4 separate regions of the Homo sapiens genome follow, and regions 2, 3 and 4 are each linked to region 1. Evidence: promoter capture Hi-C in 16 types of primary human blood cells and fetal thymus (Javierre and others, 2016). All regions are on one chromosome and are shown on one strand. The core of a region is centred on a gene start or on the middle of the fragment in contact, and the rest is flanking DNA. Distances in the headings are between cores, read along the strand shown.

Region 1 (3,226 bases), core at 604-3,103:
TTTTTTTTTTTGTACTGTGTCCTCAAATTTAATGGATTAATGTGTCTTGTATATATAAAAAGAAAACCTCTACCTTCAGCCTCTGCCTATTCTTGCTCCGTCTAGGACATCCTCAATTTCGTCGATGACCAGCTTGGTGAATAAGTATTACTGTACCAACTGGGCCTCCTCTAGCAGGCCCCTGAAGGCAGTGGAATAAAATGAAATCTTCGCCCTTTAAGAACTCCTGACCTTAATGTGGTAGTAGTATCTTGTCCTTGAGGGGATTTCCTTCCCCTCACCCCTAAGACTTTCACAACCTGGTGACTGGAAAGAACCACCACAAATCTTCATTTCCTCCAGAAACTGCTACATCTACAGCCGATTTCAGGCAGTAAAGGGAGAGGGATAGAGGAGATTGGGTGGAAAATGGAGAGGATCAAGAAGGAGCTGAGACCATTTCAAAGAAAAAAAATGCTTTATAGAGTTTTAAGTATGACTTAGATGGGTCCAGGCAAATAAACTAAAAAGAAGTGAAGGCAACATGTATCGTCTGGCAGAACTAAATCTTGGAGTGGGGTGAGGGATGAAAGACTACATATTGGGTACAGTGTACACTGCTCGGGTGATGGGTGCGCTAAAGTCGCAGAAATCACTAAAGAACTCATCCATGTAACCAAACACCACCTGTACCCCAAAAACGAAATAAAAAAACAAAACCTTGGGGCCCATTCCCCCTAGGAATGGACTACTGTAGTAGTGGCTTCTTGGATGCTTCTCTGTGACATAGCTATACCCAATTCTTTGAAAAAGAATCTAGAGCAAGGTCTGGCTTGGGGATGGGGTACAGGGAGAGACAGGTCTCGGAGAGGTTTTGAACAAAACACTTTTAAAAAGGAATGAGGACAGGCGCTTTGGGAGGCTGGGTTGGGCGGATCACCTTAGGTCAGGAGTTCGAGACCAGCCTGGTCAACATGGTGAAACCCCGTTTCTACAAAAAATACAAAAGTAGCCGGGCGTGGAGGCGCATGACTGTAATCCCAGCTACTCGGGAGGCTGAGACAGGAGAGAACCTGGGAGGCGAAGGTTGCAGTGAGCCGACATGGTGCCACTGCACTCCAGCCTGGGAAACATGAGAGAAAACTCTGTCTCAAAAAAAAAAAAAAAAAAAAAAAAAAAAAGATACCAAAGGGATATTTCTTTATAACCCCCAATTTGTTCCTTCTCAGGACTCAACTAGCTTCCCTTCCCTTGCTTTCTTAAAAATCCTTTGTCTTGCTGGTTGCAGAGCCTGCTTAGAAAAAAGAATTCTATATAGTTATAACAAACTCCCTAGTAGCTAGAGAGGTGGAGGAAGTTAAGTCCATGCGTCTCTTATGTCTTGATCTCTTCTCTGGGAAATTCAATACTAGAAGGAGCTTGGAAAAGCATTTTGTTCATCCCTCTAACAGCAGACATCGCCCAGGTCAGTCAAAAAGAACGCCCGAGTAAGGAGCGAGGTGGCTTCTGCTGTGAGGCTGGCCAGCCCCGCGGGTGGGGTGGTTGAGGGACGCCCTCAAGCCGGTCCATTTGTGCGGCTGGGCTGCCCTCTGGCGGCTTTATCCGGGTGCCATCCAGAGTCAAACCCTCGAAATCGCTTTTCGTACTGAGTTGGTCTGCAGAAAGAAGAACAGATTTAGGAGGAAGGCGGTCATAGGAAACTGAAAGTGCGTCACGCCCACTCCCGTCACGGAAACTGGTCTCTGAAAGGTGGGGTAAAGATAAAGCCTTTCAAATTTGAGGAAGACCTTCGGTCCCGCCTCCATTTCACGTCCGGCTTACCGTCGTTTACGACAGTGTCAGGATCGCGGGCTTGCTTTCCGGTAGCGTGGGCTGACGCCTCGCTCAATTTCTCACAGGGCTGCGCAGGTTTCCCCCGTCTGCGAATGGACCACTGGAGGGGTTCAAAGGTTCGCGTCCCAGTACGGGAATGAGCCTCTTTGATCTCTTCCGGGGCTTTTTCGGCTTTCCTGGACCTCGGAGGTGAGAGTAGGTCCGGCTCGGACAAGGGTGGGGGTCGTCTGAGGGGAGCTTGACCCCTACGTCTTATTTTTGGAAAAACATCCTCTGTCCCACTCCTTCAACTCCTGCAGAGAGGACAGAAGTCGCAACATTGAACACTCACCCCGCCACAGTAACCAAGGCGGTCATTAAGAGGAGAAACAGCAAACTAAGCCTTTCTCCAACCTGGGGTGATGCAACAGGGACCCGGGCGGGGAAGACCGTGAGGGTCTGGGGAATAAGACAGTGAGCAAGTGAGCAGGACCTTGGGAGAGAGAGGAGGGACTGGGGCACACTGAAGAAAAACTGGGGGAAGGTGTATGAAGGGAGCTGCGAGCTGAGGTCTGACTTTGATTAAAAAAAAAAAAAAAAAAAAAGAACTGTCAGCCATTGTATTAATGTTTTGATGTGGCAGCCAGTCCTCCGACCCTCTCCCTAGCTTCCCAGACCCCTTGCTCTTGTCCCACTTTGCCACCCATGAGTTGATTTAATGGCTTAAATAGTGCTGAAATATTGGTGGCCAATCTGCCTCCACTCTCAGCCACAGAGATCCCTTTTTTGGAGGGATGACTCGAGATGAAGATGATGATGAGGAAGAAGAAGAAGAAGGGGGCTCATGGGGCCGTGGGAACCCAAGGTTCCATAGTCCTCAGCACCCCCCTGAGGAATTTGGCTTCGGCTTCAGCTTCAGCCCAGGAGGAGGGATACGTTTCCACGATAACTTCGGCTTTGATGACCTAGTACGAGATTTCAATAGCATCTTCAGCGATATGGGGGCCTGGACCTTGCCTTCCCATCCTCCTGGTGTGTGGCTTTCCCTAAGGGGCAACCTGTGGTTTCTGGTGGGTTGGTGGGTGAAATAAAGAGCCTGCAGGGAGTAGCTGGGGGATGGGAAGTGTGAGAAGACTGATGATTTCAGAGAGATTAATAGAGCCCAAGTCCTTTCCCATCCCAGCAAACACCTGCCACCTTTCTGCAGAACTTCCAGGTCCTGAGTCAGAGACACCTGGTGAGAGACTACGGGAGGGACAGACACTTCGGGACTCAATGCTTAAGTATCCAGATAGTCACCAGCCCAGGATCTTTGGGGGGGTCTTGGAGAGTGATGCAAGAAGTGAATCCCCCCAACCAGCACCAGACTGGGGCTCCCAGAGGCCATTTCATAGGGTGAGTATCCCATCTGGTCCTGAAGTGAGAGCTTGTGAGA
Region 2 (3,253 bases), core at 591-3,090, 1.7 Mb after region 1:
GGAGTCTCGCTCTGTCGCCCAGGCTGGAGTGCAGTGGTGTGATCTCAGCTCACCAAAATCTCTGCCTCCCGGGTTCAAGTGATTCTCCTGCCTCAGCCTCCCGAGTAGCTGTGATTACAGGCACTCGCCACCACGCGCCACTAATTTTGTATTTTTAGTAGAGACGGGCTTTCCCCATGTTGGTCAGGCTGGTCTTGAACTCCCGACCTCAGGTGATTCGCTCACCTCGGCCTCCCAAAGTGCTGGGATTACAGGCATGAGCCACCTCGTCTGGCCAAGCAGTTATCTTAATTGCCAGATTAGCAGGGTGATTCTGGGTGGGCAGAGGAGTAGACATGGCCCCGAGAGACAGTGATGACACAGTCACACAGGAGCAGCCATGAGGCCAGAAGGTAGCCTGTGGGGCTCACCTGACCTTGGGCTGGGCACTCCCCTTCTGCCACCCCCTTTATACTCATCCCTGGTTCGAAAGCCCCAACATGTTGGCACCCAGCCTGTATCACTCTCACCTCTGGGTTTCTCCTATGTGTTCACAAGCCCACTGCTGATTTATTGTCGCAAAGGGCCCCTCTCTTCCCTCAGCACTCCAAAGGAACTGAACATCGAACGTTATCTTAATTAGCTGGCAGAGGGCAAGAAGGGGCTGAATATATTGGAATCCTTGAGAAAGCCTTACTCTTTTACCTATCCACCTCCTGCCTTCTCTTTGTCCCCACCTCAGCTCCTTCTGCAGTAGGTAGAGATGTAGGCAATGAAAGGGGAGGGCCCAATGAAGCATTTTTTTTTTCCAGTTATGATTGAGATCATGGGGAGACAGGATGAGGTGTGGTGAGGGCGTATCTCAGGATCCTTAGCTCTGACATGGGGTTTGCAGGAGAGAGTAGGGGGACCGCTGAGCTCTGTCCACAGACTAGAGCAGGAAAGGGGGGAAAGGCGGCGATAGAGGTTAGCAGGAATGTTTAATTATCAGGAGCAGGAACAGAACTGAGGGCATGCCCAGGTCCACACAGGCCCTCATAGGCCCAGTGTTCCCAGTGGGGAGGAAACAGGAAGCTGTGACTTCCTCTCTCTTTTCCCTCCCTGCTCTTAGCCTCAAGGTCACTGCTGCTGAGATGAATTCCAACCTGTTTTAGTTGGCACTGTTCCCTGGGCATGGTAATAGCCTCTCAGTACCCTTCTGCCACAAACACCCCAAACTTCTCCTTTGAAATAATATTCATACAAATTGCTATTTCACATGTGTTCTCTCATTGCATCATGCCACTCCTGTGAAGCAGACTTACCTGAAAATTTTAAGCAAGAAAACAGGCTTAGGGGAGTAAAGTAACTCTCCCAGTCACACGGCTAGTGAGCAGCAGGTCTGGGACTCCGCAGCCTCCGCTCTTTCCTCTCTTGGACACCCATGCTGATTCCCTGCCTCTATGCCACCTCCCAGGCCCCTTGCTTTGGGCCCCAAGGGAACACTTTCTGCAGAGGAGGGAGGCCTCTGCACTGTTAGGAACAGAGGCAGCTCTAGTTTGGTTCCTGTCATCTCTGGGACAGGGAACCTCCAGCTCTCTCCCTGGGGTGGAGGCTTGGGGCTGCCCTCCATAGCGGGGTAACTCTCCCTTCTCCCCTCCCTCTCTGCCATTTAGAGCCCCTCTTACAGGCGGGCGCATGCACATATACCCTGGCATTCAGGCTGTGCCTCGCCCTGCCCCACCTACCACCAATCTTGACCAACAGGAAGGTGGTGGGTTGTCCTTTCCACACCCCTCCCTCTGAGGTGTGGGCGTGGGCCAGGGCTCACCAGAGGCCCCAGAGAAGCACTTAATTCTACAGCCTCCTTCCTAGAGCCTTCAGTGGCCTCTGCCAGTCTGGCAGACACTTGCAGACCTCTCTTCTCAGCACCACCAATCTCTGATGCCCTGCGATGCCCACACTCAATACTTCTGCCTCTCCACCCACATTCTTCTGGGCCAATGCCTCCGGAGGCAGTGTGCTGAGTGCTGATGATGCTCCGATGCCTGTCAAATTCCTAGCCCTGAGGCTCATGGTTGCCCTGGCCTATGGGCTTGTGGGGGCCATTGGCTTGCTGGGAAATTTGGCGGTGCTGTGGGTACTGAGTAACTGTGCCCGGAGAGCCCCTGGCCCACCTTCAGACACCTTCGTCTTCAACCTGGCTCTGGCGGACCTGGGACTGGCACTCACTCTCCCCTTTTGGGCAGCCGAGTCGGCACTGGACTTTCACTGGCCCTTCGGAGGTGCCCTCTGCAAGATGGTTCTGACGGCCACTGTCCTCAACGTCTATGCCAGCATCTTCCTCATCACAGCGCTGAGCGTTGCTCGCTACTGGGTGGTGGCCATGGCTGCGGGGCCAGGCACCCACCTCTCACTCTTCTGGGCCCGAATAGCCACCCTGGCAGTGTGGGCGGCGGCTGCCCTGGTGACGGTGCCCACAGCTGTCTTCGGGGTGGAGGGTGAGGTGTGTGGTGTGCGCCTTTGCCTGCTGCGTTTCCCCAGCAGGTACTGGCTGGGGGCCTACCAGCTGCAGAGGGTGGTGCTGGCTTTCATGGTGCCCTTGGGCGTCATCACCACCAGCTACCTGCTGCTGCTGGCCTTCCTGCAGCGGCGGCAACGGCGGCGGCAGGACAGCAGGGTCGTGGCCCGCTCTGTCCGCATCCTGGTGGCTTCCTTCTTCCTCTGCTGGTTTCCCAACCATGTGGTCACTCTCTGGGGTGTCCTGGTGAAGTTTGACCTGGTGCCCTGGAACAGTACTTTCTATACTATCCAGACGTATGTCTTCCCTGTCACTACTTGCTTGGCACACAGCAATAGCTGCCTCAACCCTGTGCTGTACTGTCTCCTGAGGCGGGAGCCCCGGCAGGCTCTGGCAGGCACCTTCAGGGATCTGCGGTTGAGGCTGTGGCCCCAGGGCGGAGGCTGGGTGCAACAGGTGGCCCTAAAGCAGGTAGGCAGGCGGTGGGTCGCAAGCAACCCCCGGGAGAGCCGCCCTTCTACCCTGCTCACCAACCTGGACAGAGGGACACCCGGGTGAAGGGCGCAAGCTGAACACACTCCTCTTTCTGAGATCCACCAAGTGTAGGATCCTTGAGTCCTGGGGAGAAGCTGCCCTCTCTGCCAGGCTGCAGTGCCCTCAGGGAAAAGTCTGATCTTTGATCCCCAACTCTGGGTGTGGTGAATGGGGGAGGCGGGGGCTCAGATCAGAGCTGGATGTGACAAAGCTTAAGTCTTTATTTGGAGATGGGAAAGA
Region 3 (3,228 bases), core at 1-2,500, 1.6 Mb after region 1:
AGAGGGAGACTCTGTCAAAAAAAAAAAAAAAAAAAAAAAAAAAAGGCATCTTATTACCCAGGAAAACTTTACTGTCATAAATAGATCCAATAATAGAATAAGCCGCCTTGTGTTAGATCACTGGCAATGTTCAAGCGAAGCCTGAATGTCCACTTATCAGAGTACTAGATGAAAGCCTGAACTAGAGAACTGAAAAATAAAAGTTATTTGTAACTCTAAGCGTCTAAGGTTAGATTTCTCTTTCTTCTTTTCTTTCTTTCTCTCTCTCTCTCTTTCTTTCCAGAGACAAGGTCTCGCTCTGTTGCCCAGACCGGAGTGCAGTGGCAAGATCCTAGTTCACTGCAGCCTCAGACTCCTGGGCTCCAGTGACCCTCTGGCCTCGGCCTCCCGAGTAGCTAGGACTACAAGGCACTTGCCACCACCCTCAACGACTTTTTTTCTTTTTTTTTTTTTGTAGAGACGGGGTCTCGATTTGTTACCCAGGCTGGTCTCAAACTCCTGGCCTCAAGCGATCCTCCCGCCCCAGCCTCCCAAAGTGCTAGGATTAGAGGCGTGAGCCACCGCGCCCGACCTACAGTTAGTTTTAAACCTCCCTTCTGTTTCTCCAAGACATTAGGGGAGATTCTCCATCCCCTCAATCAACTGATGTAATTAAAACTCAGTAACTAAAGCTCAATAAAACATGAAGATTTCGTTGATTCCTGTGAGAGATGGTGGTGACCTTATAAGAAATAGAATGGGAGTAGCCAGGGCAGCTCTTTTATTTCACAGATAATTACTGAGATCAAAAAAAGGGGAAAAAAAGAAAAAGAAAGAAAGAAAAAGAAGGAAAGAAAGACAGCTACTTCAGCTCCAGGCACCTCAAACACAGCAGTAGCTCGACAGAATCCACTTTTTTGGGAACCCAAGTCGGACCAGCAGGGTGAATGAATGCCAATGTGGAGGCAGCCCCGGCACGGCCCTCTCCTAGGAAAACATTTTCAAAAGGGGTCCTAACCGCGCTTCCACCTCGGTGCCCAGGGCTGGCTCCAGTCCCCATTCCCAACTAGACACTGGACTTCACGCCCTTAACTTCCGCCACGCACCCAGCGCCCACCCTCAGACCCGACCTTCTCAACCTGGACATCGTTCGTCCAGGTGTCCCAGCTCCCACCTGCCTCTTCCCACCCCACCACACACAAACCTGTACCCTCACCAGCCGGCCTGATTCCACGGAAACGGCTTTGGCACCACCGGAAGTCAGCCAACAACAGCGAATTGCGTGCGCGTCCCCGAGCCTCGGAGCGCCGCGCCGCAGTGCATCAAGGAGCATGCGCCTAACACTATGCGCCATCCCATTTTAGGGCAGAGTGAAGCCACAACGTTAGTGCGTCAGTTATTGGCAAAAAAATTTAAAGGCACTACTTAGCTTTCTCTGCCCATGGAGTTATCCTACTCAAAACTGAGGTTAAGATTCAGTGGTTTAGATTAACAGCTAATTTGGGGGCCAGGCGCGGTGGCTCACGCCTGTAATCCCGGCACCTTGGGAGACGGAGGCGGGCGGATTACCTGAGGTCGGGAGTTCGAGATCACCCTGGCTAACATGGTGAAACCCCGTCTCTACTAAATATACAAAATTAGCTGGGCGTGGTGGCGCACGCCTGTAATCCCAGCTACTCCGGAGGCTGAGGCAGGAGAATCGCTTGAACCCGGGAGACGGAGGTGGCAGTGAGCCGGCATCGTGCCACTGCACTCCAACCTGAGCGACAGTGAGACTCTGTATCAAAAAAAAAAAAAGATTAACAACTAATTTTTCTCACTACGAGTCACCTGGAACACAGGACCAAGGGACTGAAGAAGTCATAAAATGCCAGAAAAAGAAGTCTCTAAATTACAAATAGTGCAGGCTCCTGATTAAAACTAAGGCACTCTTGGACTCAGGCTATAGTAATTATTCATATATGTACAATATTCTGCATTTTACAAAATGCTCTCACATTTTCTTAGGTGACTTGGTCTCCACAATAGACTGTAAGATTATTATATCATATTCCAGTTTGCACAGGACAAAGTTCTGGCTCATCTGAGTAGGTGATTTCACAACGGTACACAGACAGCTATCAAGGAGAATCAGGTATTAAGTCTCCTAACTCTAGCTAATAATGCATTGACCCAGTGTCCAGGAGGCTGCCTGGGGTGTAACAGATGTTCAATAATTCAATACGTGCTTTTTGAATGAGCGAATGAATGAATGACTTCTAAAATGATGTTATTTCCACTTTTCTAGAAAAACAATGTCTGGAATCCACGGAGATTAAAAAAATAATAAAAAACAGAATGTCAAAAGGTGGAAAAATACTTTCAACCCCCTCATTTTACAGGTAAACCACCAACACAAATTTATACATTTGAACTAATCCTATCTGTAAACAGAATCCAACGGATGAAATTATCCACAGCCAAAATGAAGGTTGAAATTTATGCAAACATGGCAGTAGTCTGACTAACCTGAATCACACCAACTCTCCCAAATACCAAGGAAGACTCCAGAAGCTCGGAGTTTCATGTGTGTTGTTCTTTGACCTACAGAATACACAGATCTTTCGGTTTGGCCTCTCTCATACGAAACCCTAAGCACTTGAGGTTCATGAAAAAAATTCAACACTGATTAACTTTGGCACTTTTCATTAGTTGTTTTTTTTTTTTTTTTTAAACAGCTTTGCATACCACAATATCCATCTGTTTTACGTGTACAACCAAATTTTTTTTTTTTTTTTTTTTTCAGACGGAGTCTTGTTCTGTTGCCCAGGCTGGAGTGCAGTGGCGCGATCTCGGTTCACTGCAACCTCCACCTCCTGGGCTCAAGCGATCCTCGTGTCTCAGCCTCCCAAGTAGCGTGTGCCACCACGCCCGGCTAATCTTTGTATTTTTAGTAGAGATGGGGGTTTCACCATGCTGGCCAGGCTGGTCTCGAACTCCTGACCTCAAGTGATCTGCCCGCCTTGGCCTCCCAAAGGTTTGGGATTACAGGCATGAGCCACCGTGCCCGGCTGTTTTTTTAAAATTAGTAAATGTTCAGAGTTGTGCAACCATCCCCAGGTTTGGTCTTTCATCAGAGTTTCTGAGGTTTAAGACAGTTTCCATCCACTGTGAAATATAAGCCAAAAAAAAAAGTTCTGTAATAACCTTTAGCGGTCTCAGAAATGCATAATGATGGCAGTCGATACTGAAATCCAGGCAGTACAGAAT
Region 4 (3,309 bases), core at 429-2,928, 1.7 Mb after region 1:
GTTTGTCTTAGGCCCTACTCGAATCCCCAGTTGCTTTCCAGATAGCAAAATCTAATCCCAACCCCCTAAGGAAAGTCCTTTTAAAGCTGCTTTCCCTGGCCCTCCACCCCCAACCCAGGATGGAACCTCTGTCTCTCCCAGTTTAGCATCAAGACAGGTAGCCTGGCTAGGAACTACCAGGGAGGTGGAGGGGAGGGCTTTCCATCACCCTTAAGGACTCCTAAGGGGTACTGCTCCCTTGGCTGAAGTTGGTGATCAGCATAGGCTGGCACCAGGGTAGTAGGGCACTCAGGTTGGAGAGAAGCCAGAGATTAAACCAACTCTGGGCTGGGACCTGTCCTTTCTGATAATGGGTACAGTGCGGGGGCCCCAAAGGAGCTGGGAGGTGCTGTCTGCAGGCACCACCTTCCTTTCAGCTCTGACTTATTCACCTGCAAGTCAGCTTCATCATTTCCTGGGGTCTGGGTGTGGAAAGGTCAGGGCACTTGGGAATGGGGCTGGGTACAAAGGCAGGGATAAAGGGTACTTGGAGAGGAGTGGCCAAGAGGTCATGATGGGGGAGGCGTGTGGATAATTATACACCCAGACTCATGAAATGCTAGGTGAAGGGACCCCAAGACGAGCAGATAAGAGAATGAGAGCGCTGGGGGAGGAGGAGGAAGGGCAGGGAACACAATGCATAGTGCCAGGTGTGTCAGCCTAAGGGTTTCAGGTTGGGAGAAGGAAGAGCTAGGAGGCTGGCGGGGCAGATAGGGATGGAGGCCCTATGTTCCAGGCAGAAGGGCTCAGGATGGAGGAAAGGAGCCCAGCTACACAAAGACCTCTGCTCCCTTCACCTAGAGGTGATGGTTTGGGGGAAGTAAGCCGTCCCTCGGCCGTCCCGACCCCAGCCACCCGCCCACCCAGAGGGGAGAACTGAATCACAGCTGGAAAGTCCATTTGCGAGGAGAGGAGGAGCTGACTTTTGTCTTGGAGGGGTGGTGGTGGTGGTGGGAGGAAGCCGGGAAACCACCCCCTCCCGTCCCCTCCGCCGGATGGCGGGGACAAAGGGGGAACGACCAAGCCAGCGATTGGGGAGTGATGGGGGGTCGCCACGCCAAGCCCAAGCCGGTGGGGCCCGGGGTGAGAGGAGGTGCCGGAGCTTCCACCGCCCCCACCCGCGAGACACACACCTCCCTCTTCCCGCTCCGTCCCTTACCGGAGCAACTTTCTTTCAAGCGGCCTAAAGCACTCGGTCCCGCCGGCTTGGAGGCGACCAAGCCCAGGTCCGCTCCGCTCCCTCCCGGGATCCCAGCACCGTCGCGTCTGCCGCTCCCCCCACCCCTACCCACTCGCTCGCAGTCCCCACCCACCCCGTCCCGCCGCTCGCCGATCCACCGCTCCGCCCGATTTTGGCGCCCAGAAAGCAGGCGGGGAGACAGGAGATGCACCGCGGGTGCCGGGGTTCGGGGAGCACCCGAGGACCGCGGCGAAAGGAGAGGGGTTTCCGAGCCCACCTTGCTCGCCAGCTCTCTGCTCCGGTCGATCCGCGCCCGCGTGAGGGATTCGATCCGAGACATAATCGGACGGGGGGACCAGGGAGGACGCGGCGCGGACCCCGGCGTCCTGTATTGTTGGGGGAAGGCGGGGGGAGGGGTTCGGCCCGCACGCGTTGGTCTCGGGGACAGGAAGTCTGACTCCCCTCGCCCGGCACCCAGCACCAGTTCCTCAAACCCGAGTCTCCTCCCCCGCCCAAGCTCAGGAAGGGGGTAGGCGGAGCGGAGGGAGGGCGGGGTGCCCGCGCGCAGGACGGGACGCCAGGGTTTGTGTGGGGGCAGCTCGGAGAGGTACGAGGGTCCTAGGACAGGTTTGAGAGGCCCCTCTGCCTATTTCCCCTCCAGCGCCTGGGGGCGCCCTCTAGCCCCAGAGACCCGCCTCTTAGCTCTTCTTTTCCTAAAACCCAGCCCCGCAGCCCTCGCCGGACCCAGGTTGGCCCTTTCCCCTCTGCCCTCCCCTTCTTCCCTTCTCCCCTCGCCCTCCCTTTTTCCCTCCCCTACTGCGTTACCTCAGTCTTTAAAGACCCGCAGGCAGGAGAATTCCATCCGCCCCCAGCTCTTAGAAAACCCAGGACCAGTTCCTTCCTGGCCTTCGGGGTCCCATCAAAGCAGGCCTGAGCAGACTGACCCCTTTTACGATTGGGGGCAGGGGTGGCCAGAGGGAGAGGAAATCAAAGGAGAACTAAACGCTGGATCTTCAGTACACGGGAAGGGTAGGATTCACTCCCAGAGGTCGAAGAACAGAGAGGAGAGAATTCTCCCACATGCCCCACCCTTCTGGGGCCTTCCTGACCCCACTCTGCCCTCCTCCTAGCTCCGCCTCTGCCAGCTACTTTGGGGGACTAGGTTGGGATTCTCCACTTTTACCGAAGGCCTTCCATGTGTCTAACTGCAGTTCTCTCTGTTGCAAGTTAAGCCGGAACTGAAAGACCAGAAACCAGCCTGCCCTAGTCAAAGAAAGTTAGGGCCCAACCAGCCTCTCCCCAAGAAGCAGGGTAAGGTGGGGCATTCATCTCTCTGGACCCTTTTCCCCAGCCTGAGCCAGCCTTTGGGTGAGTTTCCTGCTATTGGGAAAATTCCTCCTCCAGTCTAACTATGATCACTTACAGTGAAGTTCATTTCTGCCTCTCAGGGTCTCCCATTTCTCTGGAGAAACCAGAAGCACAGAGAGGCCTGGGACAGAGCCTTCGGTTAGCAGGGTCCTGCCTGATTCTGGCCCCAAAGGGCGTGGGAGAAGAAGGGAGGGAGGGGAGACCCAACCCAGATCCAGCAGTTCTCTGCCCTGGCTCAGCAGTGGGGCCAGGCTGCAGGTTTCAAGCCCAACTCAGCACTCTTGTAGGTGCCAATTTTAGCCTCTGCCACTATTTTTGGGCTCCACTACCTCACCACTGGCTGAGCTGGTTGGGCTCCTCACCCCCAGCACTACCCCCACACTGCCCCTCCGGCTTCCCCTCCTTCCTAGCAACTCCTTCACCTCCTTCTTCACCCATTCCCCTGTTTAGAATCCTTAAATAGCAAAGACCAGGAAAAAGGAAGAGGAAATAAACCGTGCCCAGTTCAGGCTGGATGGACATTAGAAAGCAGGAAGGACTTCCCCAGGGCCACAGCTTGTTCTTCCTGGCTTGCACCTGCCAAGTATACCTACGGGGAGGGTGTAGGAACTCCCCCAAACCAAGAGGCCTGAGGCTCCTGGCCCCAGAACTCCAGACTCACCTCCCCTGAGGTGGGCAGCCAAGACTCAGGAATGTACTAAATTTAAAAACAGACAGCCAGA

The links. The method cuts DNA at HindIII sites, captures the fragments that hold promoters and counts their contacts. A CHiCAGO score of 5 or more calls a contact.
Region 2: the fragment with the promoter of RXFP4 here is called in contact with the fragment with the promoter of HAX1 in region 1 in 5 of 17 cell types (total CD4 T cells, neutrophils, fetal thymus and 2 more); the score reaches 9.3 in total CD4 T cells.
Region 3: a contact is called between the fragment with the promoter of GON4L here and the fragment with the promoter of HAX1 in region 1, in 1 of 17 cell types (neutrophils). The highest score is 5.6, in neutrophils.
Region 4: a contact is called between the fragment with the promoter of ARHGEF2 here and the fragment with the promoter of HAX1 in region 1, in 1 of 17 cell types (neutrophils). The highest score is 5.2, in neutrophils.

What each region holds. Positions count from the first base shown.
Region 1 is chr1:154,270,776-154,274,001 of GRCh38, forward strand. It overlaps HAX1 (HCLS1 associated protein X-1), which reads left to right and starts at 1,854. Exons shown (of 7, transcript NM_006118.4): 1 at 1,854-2,001; 2 at 2,561-2,823; 3 at 2,999-3,186. The coding sequence starts at 1,949. UBAP2L (ubiquitin associated protein 2 like) reads left to right here. Exons shown (of 27, transcript NM_014847.4): 27 at 1-72. RefSeq lists a silencer at 1,470-1,610 and an enhancer at 1,748-1,917. The HindIII fragment of the contact is 9,202 bases long and covers 1-3,226 here.
Region 2 is chr1:155,939,798-155,943,050 of GRCh38, forward strand. RXFP4 (relaxin family peptide/INSL5 receptor 4) reads left to right here and starts at 1,841. Exons shown (of 1, transcript NM_181885.3): 1 at 1,841-3,253. The coding sequence starts at 1,913. The coding sequence ends at 3,037. RefSeq lists a silencer at 1,281-1,575 and an enhancer at 1,895-2,394. The HindIII fragment of the contact is 9,136 bases long and covers 1-3,222 here.
Region 3 is chr1:155,855,964-155,859,191 of GRCh38, forward strand. It overlaps GON4L (gon-4 like), which reads right to left and starts at 1,251. Exons shown (of 32, transcript NM_001282860.2): 1 at 1,184-1,251. RefSeq lists enhancers at 1,131-1,330, 1,617-2,204. The HindIII fragment of the contact is 10,340 bases long and covers 1-3,228 here.
Region 4 is chr1:155,976,869-155,980,177 of GRCh38, forward strand. ARHGEF2 (Rho/Rac guanine nucleotide exchange factor 2) reads right to left here and starts at 1,679. Exons shown (of 22, transcript NM_001162383.2): 1 at 1,497-1,679. The coding sequence starts at 1,559. ARHGEF2-AS2 (ARHGEF2 antisense RNA 2) reads left to right here and starts at 1,771. Exons shown (of 3, transcript NR_183460.1): 1 at 1,771-1,826; 2 at 2,452-2,587. RefSeq lists enhancers at 74-153, 2,284-2,353, 2,815-3,309, 2,824-2,873 and silencers at 1,674-1,833, 1,894-1,943. The HindIII fragment of the contact is 25,844 bases long and covers 1-3,309 here.